Linked DNA regions of Homo sapiens: all the other regions are linked to region 1. The links are contacts of gene promoters, found by promoter capture Hi-C in blood cells and fetal thymus (Javierre and others, 2016). All regions are on one chromosome and are shown on one strand. The core of a region is centred on a gene start or on the middle of the fragment in contact, and the rest is flanking DNA. Distances in the headings are between cores, read along the strand shown.

Evidence for each region. The method cuts DNA at HindIII sites, captures the fragments that hold promoters and counts their contacts. A CHiCAGO score of 5 or more calls a contact.
Region 2: a fragment that was not itself captured here is called in contact with the fragment with the promoter of CD63 in region 1 in 1 of 17 cell types (naive CD4 T cells); the score reaches 5.1 in naive CD4 T cells.
Region 3: a contact is called between a fragment that was not itself captured here and the fragment with the promoter of CD63 in region 1, in 1 of 17 cell types (fetal thymus). The highest score is 5.5, in fetal thymus.

The regions. Positions count from the first base shown.
Region 1 is chr12:55,727,759-55,731,645 of GRCh38, forward strand. It overlaps CD63 (CD63 molecule), which reads right to left and starts at 1,251. Exons shown (of 8, transcript NM_001780.6): 1 at 1,195-1,251; 2 at 518-594. The coding sequence starts at 583. CD63-AS1 (CD63 antisense RNA 1) reads left to right here and starts at 1,336. Exons shown (of 2, transcript NR_183514.1): 1 at 1,336-1,597; 2 at 1,904-3,094. RefSeq lists silencers at 648-947, 1,218-1,597 and an enhancer at 1,077-1,683. The HindIII fragment of the contact is 20,987 bases long and covers 1-3,887 here.
Region 2 is chr12:55,984,961-55,988,906 of GRCh38, forward strand. It overlaps RAB5B (RAB5B, member RAS oncogene family), which reads left to right. Exons shown (of 6, transcript NM_002868.4): 2 at 1,909-2,163. The coding sequence starts at 2,001. Among named protein-coding and RNA genes, the nearest start is that of SUOX, 10 kb to the right of the region's middle. The HindIII fragment of the contact is 3,073 bases long and covers 878-3,946 here.
Region 3 is chr12:56,121,162-56,125,362 of GRCh38, forward strand. It overlaps ZC3H10 (zinc finger CCCH-type containing 10), which reads left to right. Exons shown (of 3, transcript NM_032786.3): 3 at 1-4,201. The coding sequence ends at 706. Among named protein-coding and RNA genes, the nearest start is that of ZC3H10, 5.0 kb to the left of the region's middle. RefSeq lists an enhancer at 1-991. The HindIII fragment of the contact is 713 bases long and covers 1,526-2,238 here.

The sequences.
Region 1 (3,887 bases), core at 1-2,500:
GGAAAAGGGAGCAAGAGTGATGTGTCCCTCCCTAGACAAACAGTAGCCTCTCAAGCCAGGAGCCCAGGGCAGGAGCAAATTGAAGTGGGCAGAGCCCTTCCTCACCCCCAAGCGCTGGGAGGAGGGAAAGGGGGAGAGGGGCTGGACAGGGATGAGAGGGTTGGGGAGGGAGAGAGGGGAGAAGGGAGAGCGAAGGGAAGCCCCATGGCGATAGCATCAGGCGGTTGGCTGGTTGCCCCACTGCCCCATATCACAAGTGGTTGGGTCACCAGACAGGAAGGGCCAGGAGGGATGGGGGTAGGGGTTGCTGCACACCCAGGATGGCCATTCTCGGTGGAAACAAGCCTCAGGTGTCCAGGAAAACTGGAGGAGGGAGTGGCTGCGCTGTCTTTCCCTGGCTTTCTTTCCACATCTGGTCTCCAGCTGCCTTAATTCTCATTCCCTCAGCCCTCACCACTGTGGAGCCAGGTCTCCCCGCACCCTGCCGGCGCGCCCCCCAGGACCCCTCGCCACTCACGCAAAAGGCCAGCAGGAGGACGTAGAGCAAGAACTTCACACATTTCATTCCTCCTTCCACCGCCATGGCTGCCGGGCCTGGGGCAGAGGGGAGGGCGGGGGGATTAAAACTGGCCGAAGGGGGACCTCGGTTTCCGGGCTCCCGGCCGGCCCTCGAGGGCTTCCCTTCACGGCCCCGATTCCCGGCCCCTCCCACCCGGAAACCCGCGGTCGGATCCACGTCTCCCAGCCCCCTCTTTACCCGCAGGAGAGGGGTGGGGGCGACGGCCGCGAAGCCCGGACCCCGCCCCGCCGCCTCTGGGGCCCAGGACAGATCCAAGGGCGCCGGCAGGGGCTTGAGCCTGACGCCGACCCTCGGCCCGCCAGTCTCCGGGCGTCAAACACCCTTTCCCCACCCAACACCCAGCCTGGAGAAACGGTCTTCAGCCCAACCCCGACCCCCGCCCCAGCCCCTTTCCCCTGGGCTCTGACCTCCCCGCCCACCAAAAAAAAAAAAAGTGCAGCCAGCACCCCCGCCACACCCTGCCCGGGCCCAGGGAACTTCGAAGCAAAGTTGCTCCAGGGCGGCTGGAGAGCGCCGGACGAGTCTCCGCGGGCCTGGGGCGAGCCCTGGAGGAAGGGACTGCGGGTGGTCTCTCCCAGCCCGCGCCGAAGTCCGCCGGGTCCCCGCGGCCTCACCTGGGCTTCCCAAGGCTGGCTGCGCGTTCCTCTCCCGCCGCGGCTCCGGGGCTCTCTAGCTGCGCCCCCCGGCTCCCGCCCCGCCTGCCGCGCGGCCCCGCCCCGGGCTCCAGCCACGGTCCCCTCCCCCGCCGAGTGGCCGCCGGCCTCCCTCATGTGACGCGGTAACAGCTGCGGCCTGAGTCACTGGGCCCGGCGCGGGGTGGGCCGAGCCCCCCGCCCGGCCAGGGCCACGTGGCCCCTACCCGGAAGAAGGCGCCCACCCCCGCAAAGGGAAAGCCGCAAGGGCAAGACCTCGGGGCGCCTGGGGCCCCCCTCTGGCGCTATACCTCCGTGCCAACTCGGGGTAGGAGAGCGGGGCGGAGCGCAGCCTGGGTCACTCTGGTTCAGAGAAGCGGACGAGGTGGGTGAGAGTTACCCTCTGAGCGCCGGGGCGGAGAGCTGAGGCCGGGTGACAATGTGGTCTGTGAGGTTTCCCCATCCTACCGTAGGGGATGAGCCAGCTCTCTCCTCTGGCTCCAACTCTGTGCAAGCCCCCTCCCCATCCGACTGTGCAGACAGCTGGGGACTGCCTGGGGTCGGGTGGGGCCAGAACAAACACTTCCAGAAAGTCCCTGGCTCACATCCTGGGTGTCTCCCAACATTCTACAGCATTCTAGAGTGGGGATTTCTGGCCCCCCTCTATTAGCACAGCTTCTCCATTTTCCAGGGATCCTAGTCTGAGAAAAGGGGAGGAAGCCCTTCCCCGAAGCCACGCTACCCAGTCAATCAAGACACGTCCGCGTCGGGTCCCGCCCTCTGGGGGAGGATTGACAAGGTCTGTGCTTCCAGCCTCCCAGACAGCTCCTGCATCCGTCTGTGATAGCGAGGGCTTGGGGGAAGACACGAAGGCAGGAGAGGCTTACATCCTCTGGATTTCCCCGTCTTATCCCAGAAGACAAAGCCAGGTGAGGGCTGGAAGCGGGCTAGGGGGATCAAGCTGCCTCCCTCCCTTGTGTGCCAGGGGTGGTCCCCAGAAGGAGCTGATCTGAACAGGCCGGAGAGTAGGACCGGCCGTCACACCCCCACACCTCCAGCCTCGGCCCCACTCCTTGGGCTCTTAAGGTCCTGCCTCAAGAACCACTTCCTGAGTCTTAGTGTATGTGTGTACACAAAGAATGAAAGAAGTCTCTAGAGCTAAAGGAAGGAGATCCGGGCTGGGCTGAGAAGCATCTTCCAGGATCACGGCCTTCCCGCGGGACACACCAAGCCCATTCCGGATCTTGCTCTTCCTGACCATGGCTGGCAGGCTGTGGAGGAGGAGCGGAGAGCAGAAGAAAGGAGTATTCATCAGGTTCCTTATTGTGCTGCCACTAGATGCCAGGCATGTGCTAGGCTTGGGGGCTGCAAGGAGAGGAAGACAGCGGCCCTGCCCTCTGCTAGCAGGCAGAACCGAGTTCTGGCCACACTGTGAAGAAAGGCAGAAGCCTGCGGTGGCAGCTGGTTAAGCTCAGAGGGAGGGAAAGGGAGAGGAGAATGGATTTCACGGAGCAGAAGGATGTGCTCAAGGTGACCTTGGAGAATAAAGGGGAGAGCTCCAGGGACAGAGAAGCAGTCGACTGTGGAAAAAAAAGGAGCATTTTGTAAAGTACATGGCAGGTTGGGGTTGGCTGGCTCAAAGGGCTTGGGACGGATGTGGTGAGATGGGCTGAAGGTGGTCTGAAGATCAAGATTGAGAGACTAGATACATAACAACCAACTGCAATGTTTGGTCCTTCATTGAATGGTTGAACAAACCAGCTGTGAAAGACATTTTGGGACATACAGACATGGACTGAGAATTAGACATAAGAAAATTATTTTGTTAACTGTTATCATGGTTAACAAAACGGTCATATAATATGATTATGTAGAGAAGTTACTCTAGTTTTTCCTCTTTTTTTTTCTTTATTCTCCTATCAGCCAATGCATTTGTTACAGGAAAGGGGTCCCAATCCAGACCACAAGAGAGGGTTCTTGGATCTCATGCAAGAAAGATTCAGGGCGAGTCGCAGTGCAAAGTATAAGCAAGTTTATTAAGAAAGTAAAGTGGTGAAACAACAGCTGCTCCATAGACAGAGTAGGATGTTCCCCAAAGTAAGAGGAGGGGCTAGGCGCAGTGGCTCACCACACCTGTAATCCCAGCATTTTGGGAGGCCTAGGCAGGTGGATCACCTGAGGTCAGGAGTTCGAGACCAGCCTGGCCAACACGGTGAAACCCCGTCTCTACTAAAAATACAAAAAGTAGCTGGGCACAATGATGTGTGCCTGTAGTCCCAGCTACTCAGGAGGCTGAGGCAGGAGAATCACTTGAACCCAGGAGGCAGAGGTTGCAGTGAGCAGAGATCGTGTTGCTGCATGCCATCCTGGGCAACAAGAGTGAAACTCCGTCTCTCTTTTTTTTTTTTTTTTTTTTGAGACGGAGTCTCGCTCTGTCACCAGGGTGGAGTGCAGTGGTGCCATCTTGGCTCACTGCAACCTCCGCCTCCCGTGTTCAAGTGATTCTCCTGCCTCAGCCTCCCAAGTAGCTGGGACTACAGGCACGCACCACTACGCCCAGCTAATTTTTGTGTTTTTAGTAGAGATGGGGTTTCACCATATTGGCCAGGATGGTCTCCATCTATTGACCTCGTGATCCGCCCCCTCAGCCTTCCAAAGTGCTGGGATTACAGGCG
Region 2 (3,946 bases), core at 1,164-3,663, 260 kb after region 1:
GTAATGATTAGTAGCTTAATATTTATTTAGCACTTAGTATCTATCAAATACTTAAAATACTTTAGTTATTTATATGCATTATCTCATTTAATCCTTACAACACCCTTATGAAGTAGGTGCTTATAAGGCTATTATCTCATTTTACAGATGAGGAAATGAATGCACACATATATTTAGTGACTTGCTCAAGGTTCATAGCTAGTAAGTAGAGCTGAAAAACAAACGTGGAGAATTGGACTCCAGAGCCTTTATTCCTCTGAATTGCCTCCTGTATGATTTTCTGTCTTTACGATCTAGTAAGTGGGGTTACTGAAAATTTTTAACCCCAGTTTAACTCCAGTCCCACTAATTGTGGTGACAAAATAATGATGTTTCCCCACATATGCCATAGAGTATGATGTCTGTGAAGTCACTAGGATCTGCTTTGGAAAAGCGAAAGAGTAATTTGAACAAGCAAAGTACAACTCTCAAGCAATGCTTAGGTTTGGGAGAGAGGTTTTTGCATGCTCTGCCTATGCTAACTTCCCTTTGAATTTCATAGTTCCTTTCCGCTCAGAGTCAGGATGATGAAATGTATTCAGATTTAGACGATTAGAATCTCAAAGTCCCAACTCTTCTCTCTGTTCCCTGCCCCACCAGCAGCTTTCTTAGCCCTCTTAGAAGATAGAGGAGCTGATTCAGTGTATTCTTTCATCAAATACTGATTGCTTGCAGACTTAACGCCCTATACCATCCTCTGGAGACTTCTGCATGTCTTTAGAAGGTATACCTTTCTCTGCCTCTAATTTGGAGGGCTACAGCTGTTAGGCCCCTTTGGTGTGGAGGGTAATCTAATCCCTAGGCACCAGCAAGACAGCTGCAAGTTGAGAGTAGGTCAAGCTTACTGATTCTTGATAGACTTTCAGATTTGGAAAGATGGCAGAAACAAAGTGAAAAAAGAGTTGTTAATGAAACAAAGAGTTGATAATGAATGTGATCTGTTGGTTGTATTTCTCTCTTTACCTTCAACCAAAAATGAGAAAGGATAGATTTTGTGGCAATGGGACCCTGGTTAGATCTTTAGAAATGTCTTATCAGGGAGACCGGTCATATATAAAGGATACAGCAGCAACTACCCTTCTGCCCTTAGGAGTGGTGACTCTTATCCCACACCCCTAGAGTGAATCTCTCATTTTGACAAAGAGCTAAGGAAAAATGAAAAGAAGGCCAGGCACGGTGGCTCATGCCTGTAATATCAGCACTTTGGAAGGCCAAGGCGGGCAGATCACCTGAGGTCAGGACTTCTTAGACTAGTCTGACCAACATGGAGAAACTCCGTCTCTACTAAAAATACAAAATTAGCCAGGCGTGGTGGTGCATGCCTGTAATCCCAGCTACTCGGGAGACTGAGGTGGGAGAATTGCTTGAACCCGGGAGGCAGAGGTTGTGGTGAGCCAAGATTGTGCCATTGCACTCCAGCCTGGGCAACAAGAGTGACGTCTCAAAAAAAAAGAAGAAAAGGAAAAGAAGAGCACAGCACCAGGATGCCAAGGAGATACTGGGGATCTAGGGTACCGGTGGGTGGATCTGGATATTCTTCAGGCCAGCTAAAGGTTGATCACTTTGTGTGACTCAAACAAAAAACTTTGAAGACCTGGTGGGGAATTACTGGGGAATTAAAAACTCTCAGTTTTCAGTCTCTCTATTTCGGCTCCCTTGGCAGTTAGAGATTATGTGGTAGGGCAGACTCCAGAAGCAGTTCTTATTTTGCTCTTCCCAACTCTTACCACTGAGGATCAGCTGCCTGGGACCTTCTCAGAGCTAAGTCCTCATAGAAGCAAGGAGATGAAGAGGTTCTATCCTTCTCTGAAAAGCGATTGCAGCTTCAATGGACGTATGTTTAATTTTATTCACTTTTTTTTCTTGCAGGAGTGTTGAAGCCTGGAAATCCCCTCCCCTTCCCCCTCCCCCCTTTACAGTATCCCCCTCCCTCCACCCTTTCCCATTCTGATAATCTGGCCATGACTAGCAGAAGCACAGCTAGGCCCAATGGGCAACCCCAGGCCAGCAAAATTTGCCAGTTCAAATTGGTCCTGCTGGGAGAATCTGCAGTGGGAAAGTCAAGCCTGGTATTACGTTTTGTCAAAGGGCAGTTCCATGAGTACCAGGAGAGCACCATTGGAGGTGAGTGCCTTGGGGTAATAGGAGATTGAATGTTTGGTAAGGGTTTTTTTTTTTTTAGATGGAGTCTTGCTCTGTTACCCAGGCTGGAGTGCAGTGGCGCAATCTTGGCTTACTGCAACCTCTGTCTCCCAGGTTCGAGCGATTCTCATGCCTCAGCCTCCCGAGTAACTGGGATTACAGGTGCACACCGTGGCACCTGTCTAATTTTTGTATTTTTAGTGGAGAGGGGGTTTCACCATCATGTTGGCCAGGTTGGTCTCAAACTCCTGACCTCAGGTGATCTGCCTGCCTCGGCCTCCCAAAGTGCTGGGATTACAGGCGTGAGTCACCACGCCGGGCCGGTAAGGCTTTTGAAAAGAGATATAAGACCTGATTATGGAGCTGGCCCTCTTAGTCCCATTCTTTTCCCCAGAAATGGAAACCCTTTATAAAAACAGAGGCCGGTCCCAGTGGCCCACCACTTTGGGAGGCCAAGATGGGCGGATCACCTGAGGTCAGGAGTTCGAGACCAGCCTGCCCAACATGGCGAAATCCTGTCTCTACTAAAAATACAAAAAATTAGCCAGGCGTGGTGGCAGGCGCCTGTAATCCCAGCTACTCGGGAGGCTAAGGCAGGAGAATCACTTGAACCCAGGGGGCAGAGGTTGTAGTGAGCCGAGATTGCGCCACTGCACTCCACCCTGGGCGACAAGAGCAAAACTCCATCTCCAAAAAAAAAAAAAAATCAAAATCTGGTAAAATAGGCTGGGCATGGTGGGTCACACCTGTAATCCCAGCATTTGGGAGGCCAAGGCAGGCGGATCACTTGAGGCCAGGAGTTCAAGACCAGCCTGGCCAACAAGGTGAAATCCCCGTCTCTACTAAAAATACAAAAAATTAGCTGGGCGTGGTGGCACATGCCTATAATTCCAGCTACTCAGGAGGCTGAGGTAGGAGAACTACTTGAACCCAGGAGATGGAGGTTGCAGTGAGCCAAGATTGCGCCATTGCACTCCAGCCTGGGTGACTAGAGTGAAAATCCGTCTCAAAAAAACAAAACAACAACAACAACAACAAAGATTAGCCGGGCATGGTGGCACATGCCTGTAATCCCAGCTACTTGGGAAGCTGAGGCAGGAGACTCGCTTGAACTCATGAGGCGGAGGTTGCAGTGAGCCAAAATCACGCCAGTGCATTTTATCCTAGGCGAAGGAGCGAGACTGTTTCAAAAACAAAAAAAAATCTGGTAAAATAGAGGCTGGAACTAATGCAAAATACAAAGGGTGTCTGTCTTTCTCATCTTTGCTACCTTTTCCCCACTACTACCCCAAAATAGGGTGCTAATTCAATAAAGGATCTTTTATGAGAACTTCCAAATTATTCCTTCCCCTTGTTATTTTTATTTATTTATTTATTTATTTTTGAGACGGAGTCTCTGTCGCCCAGACTGGAGTGCAGTGGTGCAATCTTGGCTCATTGCAACTTCTGCCTCCCAGGTTCAAGTGATTCTCGTGCCTCAGCCTCCTGAGCAGCGGAGATTACAGGCACATACCACCATGCCCGGCTAATTTTTGTATTTGTATAGAGACAGGGTTTCACCGTGTTGGCCAGGCTGGTCTCAAACTCCTGACTTCAAGTGATCCACCCGCCTCGGCCTCCCAAAGTGCTGGGATTACAAGCATGAGCCACCGTGCCTGGCCTCTTTCCCCTTTTTATTAGTCATCTTGGAAATGTATTCCTGGACCTGCAGCAGATTATATGAAAAAGTAACAGCCAAATAATATTGATAATGATGGGACTTGCC
Region 3 (4,201 bases), core at 632-3,131, 390 kb after region 1:
TGAGGACCATGAGCCAGGCCCAAAACGCCGGCGAGGTGGATGCTGCCCCCCTGATGGCCCTCATTTTGAGTCATATGAATATAGTTTGGCTCCACCGCGAGGGGTGGAGTGCAGACTGCTAGAGGAGGAGAATGCCATGCTCAGGAAGCGGGTAGAGGAGTTAAAGAAGCAGGTCAGCAACCTGCTGGCCACCAATGAGGTACTACTGGAACAAAATGCTCAGTTCCGCAATCAGGCCAAGGTCATAACCCTGAGCTCCACTGCACCAGCGACTGAGCAGACTCTGGCCCCCACTGTGGGCACTGTTGCCACTTTTAACCATGGCATTGCCCAGACTCACACTACTCTCAGCAGCCAGGCTCTACAGCCTCGTCCAGTGTCCCAGCAAGAACTGGTGGCCCCTGCTGGAGCTCCAGCTGCTCCCCCAACTAATGCTGCACCTCCTGCTGCTCCACCACCCCCACCCCCACACTTGACCCCAGAGATCACGCCACTGTCAGCTGCCCTGGCTCAAACAATTGCCCAGGGAATGGCACCTCCACCTGTCTCCATGGCTCCTGTGGCTGTATCTGTGGCTCCTGTGGCCCCTGTGGCTGTATCGATGGCCCAACCCTTGGCAGGAATCACAATGAGCCACACCACCACTCCCATGGTGACTTACCCTATCGCTTCCCAGAGCATGCGCATCACGGCCATGCCACACTGATGGGGCTAATGGACACTCCCCTGGTATAGCCTCGCAGGGCTGGGGTCAGGGGGCCCTTGCCCACTCACCTAGCCTTCCCCATCCCTGTCTGAAGGGCTCCCTTGAGAACTAGGACAAGAGACTACAAGGAGTATGTCCTGAGGAGGGGTTGGGATGGTGTGTTTTCTCTCACCTCCCTTTTATGAGGGTCCTCTTGTCCATCTTCAAGCCTCACAGTGGGGGCTTGCAGAGGAGTGCAGACTGAAGCCAGCAGAGAGGAAGGACTGACTGAGGGGCTGTGTCCTCTTATGGGAATTTGGGAACATCCCTCGTCTTGTCCTCTCTTCTGCACAGCACAGGTTCCAGCACTGGTTTTAGAAGAAAAAAATACCCTGCCCAGAGGGAAAGCCAGGAAAGATTGGGAAGTGGGTGGTCAGGAGAGAAGGCCTGATAGGAGCCTTCAGACAATTTGGGTCCTAGTTGCTTGGGTTGGACAATACAGGAATTGCTTCTGGGCCCTGGGAAAGCTGGGACCATAGTGCTCCAGCCCAAAGACTAGGGGAGCATTCATTACCCTAGTTTGACCTGAAAATCCATAGGGCAGGGCCCACTACTTTCCAAAGAAATAAAAGAACAATTATTTTTAACAAATGGAGGCAGTGAAAACTTGCTTAGCTATTCTGTGTGGAAGATGGGAGCAGTAAATAGATCTCATGCCAAAATGGGATAAAGACCCCAGCCTCACATAGCTTTGGTAAGATGGATAGAAGCCAGTGAAGAAGGGTAGGGACCCAGAACAAGACCAAATGGGGCTTTGGGGAAGGCACTTTATGGGGTAAAAGCTTTGGAGCCACCCAGTCTAGTTTTAAAAATAGTCCCATCTGTTTCTGGTCTCTGTCTGTATGTGCTATTCCCAGGTTGCCTCAGTAACCAGGGCTCCTAGGGTCATTTAGCAGGGCAGGCAGTAAGGAGAGTGTATTTGCTGAAATGCGGATGGGATGTTACATAGTTGACAGATCCTTATTCAAACAGAGCAGGACAGGTGGAGTTGATGGCCATTGAGTTGATGGCAGTTGCCGCTCAGTTGATGGCAGTTAATGTCCCTCCTACCCCACCCCTTCAGTGGCCAGTTCCTGAAGCCTTCAAGGCTTGGGAGGTCTGGGAAAAGAGAGTCCTTCTAGGGACACAAGCCTCAGGGTCCATCCCTTTCCTCTGTCTCCACATAGGACCAGAAGTTTTAAATCTACTTAAGTCAGTAAGGCCAGGGGCCCCAATAGTCAAACCTCAGTTCCTCCTCAGCTCACGGCTGATGTAGGGAAAACAACTCAGGTGTCTAGTCTAATGGGACAGTAGATTTGGGGGTAGAGAGTGATCCTGGATTGTGTTCCCCCTCATCATGTCTCCTGCTACCTCTTGCTTTCTTGTCTGGTTGATCACTCAGGTCACATCTGGGATTGGAGATGGTGGGCTAGGTCAAGGCCAGTCATTAAAAAAAAAAGCCTAAAGACTAAAAGTGGGCTAACATTGTGGATTTTAGAAACAACACATTGATAAGCTTAATGTTTTTTGGGACACAATTTTTTTTTTTTTTTTTGAGATGGAGTCTTGCCCAGTCACCAGACCGGAGTGCAGTGGCGCAATCTCGGTTCACTGTAACCTGCGCCTCCTGGGTTCAAGCGATTCTCTTGCGTCAGCCTCCCGAGTAGCTGAGACTACAGGCGCCCGCCACCACGCCCGGCTAATTTTTTTATTTTTAGTAGAGACGGGGTTTCATCGTGTTGGCCAGAATGGTCTCTATCTCTCGTGATCCGCCCGCCTCAGCCTCCCAAAGTGCTGGGATTACAGGCATGAACCACCGTGCCCGGCAATTCTAGACTATTAAAAGAGATGGTTTAAGAGCATTTAGAGAAGAATGTAACCATAGATACCAACATGAATTCTCAGTCAAATCCTGACTGACTTTATTTCCTCCTTGCCAGGTTATCTCCAAAGAGGTAGATTTGGGAAATTTTAGACATTGTATGTCTTGTATGTATTTACTCCAGCTGAAGACCACCAAGAATACACCTGGTAATTGAGCAAGTTGGGTTTAATGCTCATTGCAGTGAGGGGGAGGGCTCACCATTGGGGATAACGTGGTGTGTCTCAGCATGAGGGTGTTAGGAACGACTTAGAGAACTTAGACTTTGGTTAAGTGATTTTGGGGAAGATTCAAGAAAGTGGGTGTTCTTTTGGATTGGGTGCTGTTAAGGGAATCCAGGATAATTGGGTAGCTTGTCTAGAAGAAGGGCAGACAAGTGAACCTAAGCACAGTCGATGATGAAGTCACTCACTAGCTGGGAAAGGGGATGTTTGCTGTTTTGTGGTTTGCACACTGACCTTGTTTTGTGCTTAAACAAAATTGTGTAGTGATTTTGTTTTTTGTCTCACTTCATCGCAGTCACTGAGTGACCTTGTCTGATGCTGGTGTTTTGTGAGATTGTTTGTGTCCAAGAGAACTCATTGGCTACCTGTGAGCACCAGGTCAGCCCTAACAGCTCTGAAGCCTGGCTGTGTCAGGCCAGTTCCCAGATTACAGGAGCTACTTTCCTCTCTCTCACCTGCTAAGTCATCACAGATAAGAGGAAAATTACGGGTCAGTTAATCGTAGCATTTTTTCCATGCAAATGGCTCTGGTTAAAAAATAATGAGAAAAAAATAGTAGCATTTGGTAGAATCAAACTGAACACTTGTACTTAGTGTTGGTTAGCGCATTTATGTTAGAGAAATCTCTGTTCTCTAGTGATAAGCCCAAGGGCTATGTTTTATTGTAAAAAGAAAAAACCCAACTCGGGTAAACATGTAAAAAACCCATTTATCAACAGTAACACAGGAAGAGCTAAATAATATTCAAAGTGTCTGTAACTTGAATTGACTAAAACACTGGAGCACTCTCACACTAAAAAATTGCTTAGATCTTGAACTAGTTTGAGGAACAATGTTAGAGATTTATATTAGCAATAATTCACATGAGAACAAACTGGGACTTCCAGTTGGCTGCAAAAAAATAGAATCTTAGCCCTCAAGATGTCCATTTATAAATATTTATTAAGAGCCTGCTATGTTCTAGGCATCTTTCTAGGAGCTCCATAAGGGTAGTAGAACCTTGGTAATAGATTACAAATACAGCAGTTCTATGTTCTGCCTAAGTGTAACCACTTAGTAGTGTGTTGTTCTAAATGTAATTTTTAAAGAGGGCCATTGACAAACCAGTGTGTTGCTAGAAAAAAAAGGCTGGCAAGAGAAAGCTTCAAATAGAAGTCTTCAAATATTTGAAGGGCTGCCCAGTGGAGGAAGATCCTGTTTGCTACACAGGAAGTAAAAAGGGATTTCTAGAATAATGGCTAACTTTTTTTTTTTTTTTTTTTTTGAGACGGAGTCTAGCTGTGTGGCCCAGGCTTCAGTGCAGTGGCACGATCTCTGCTCACTGCAAACTCTGCCTCCAGGGTTTACGCCATTCTGCTGCCTCAGCCTCCA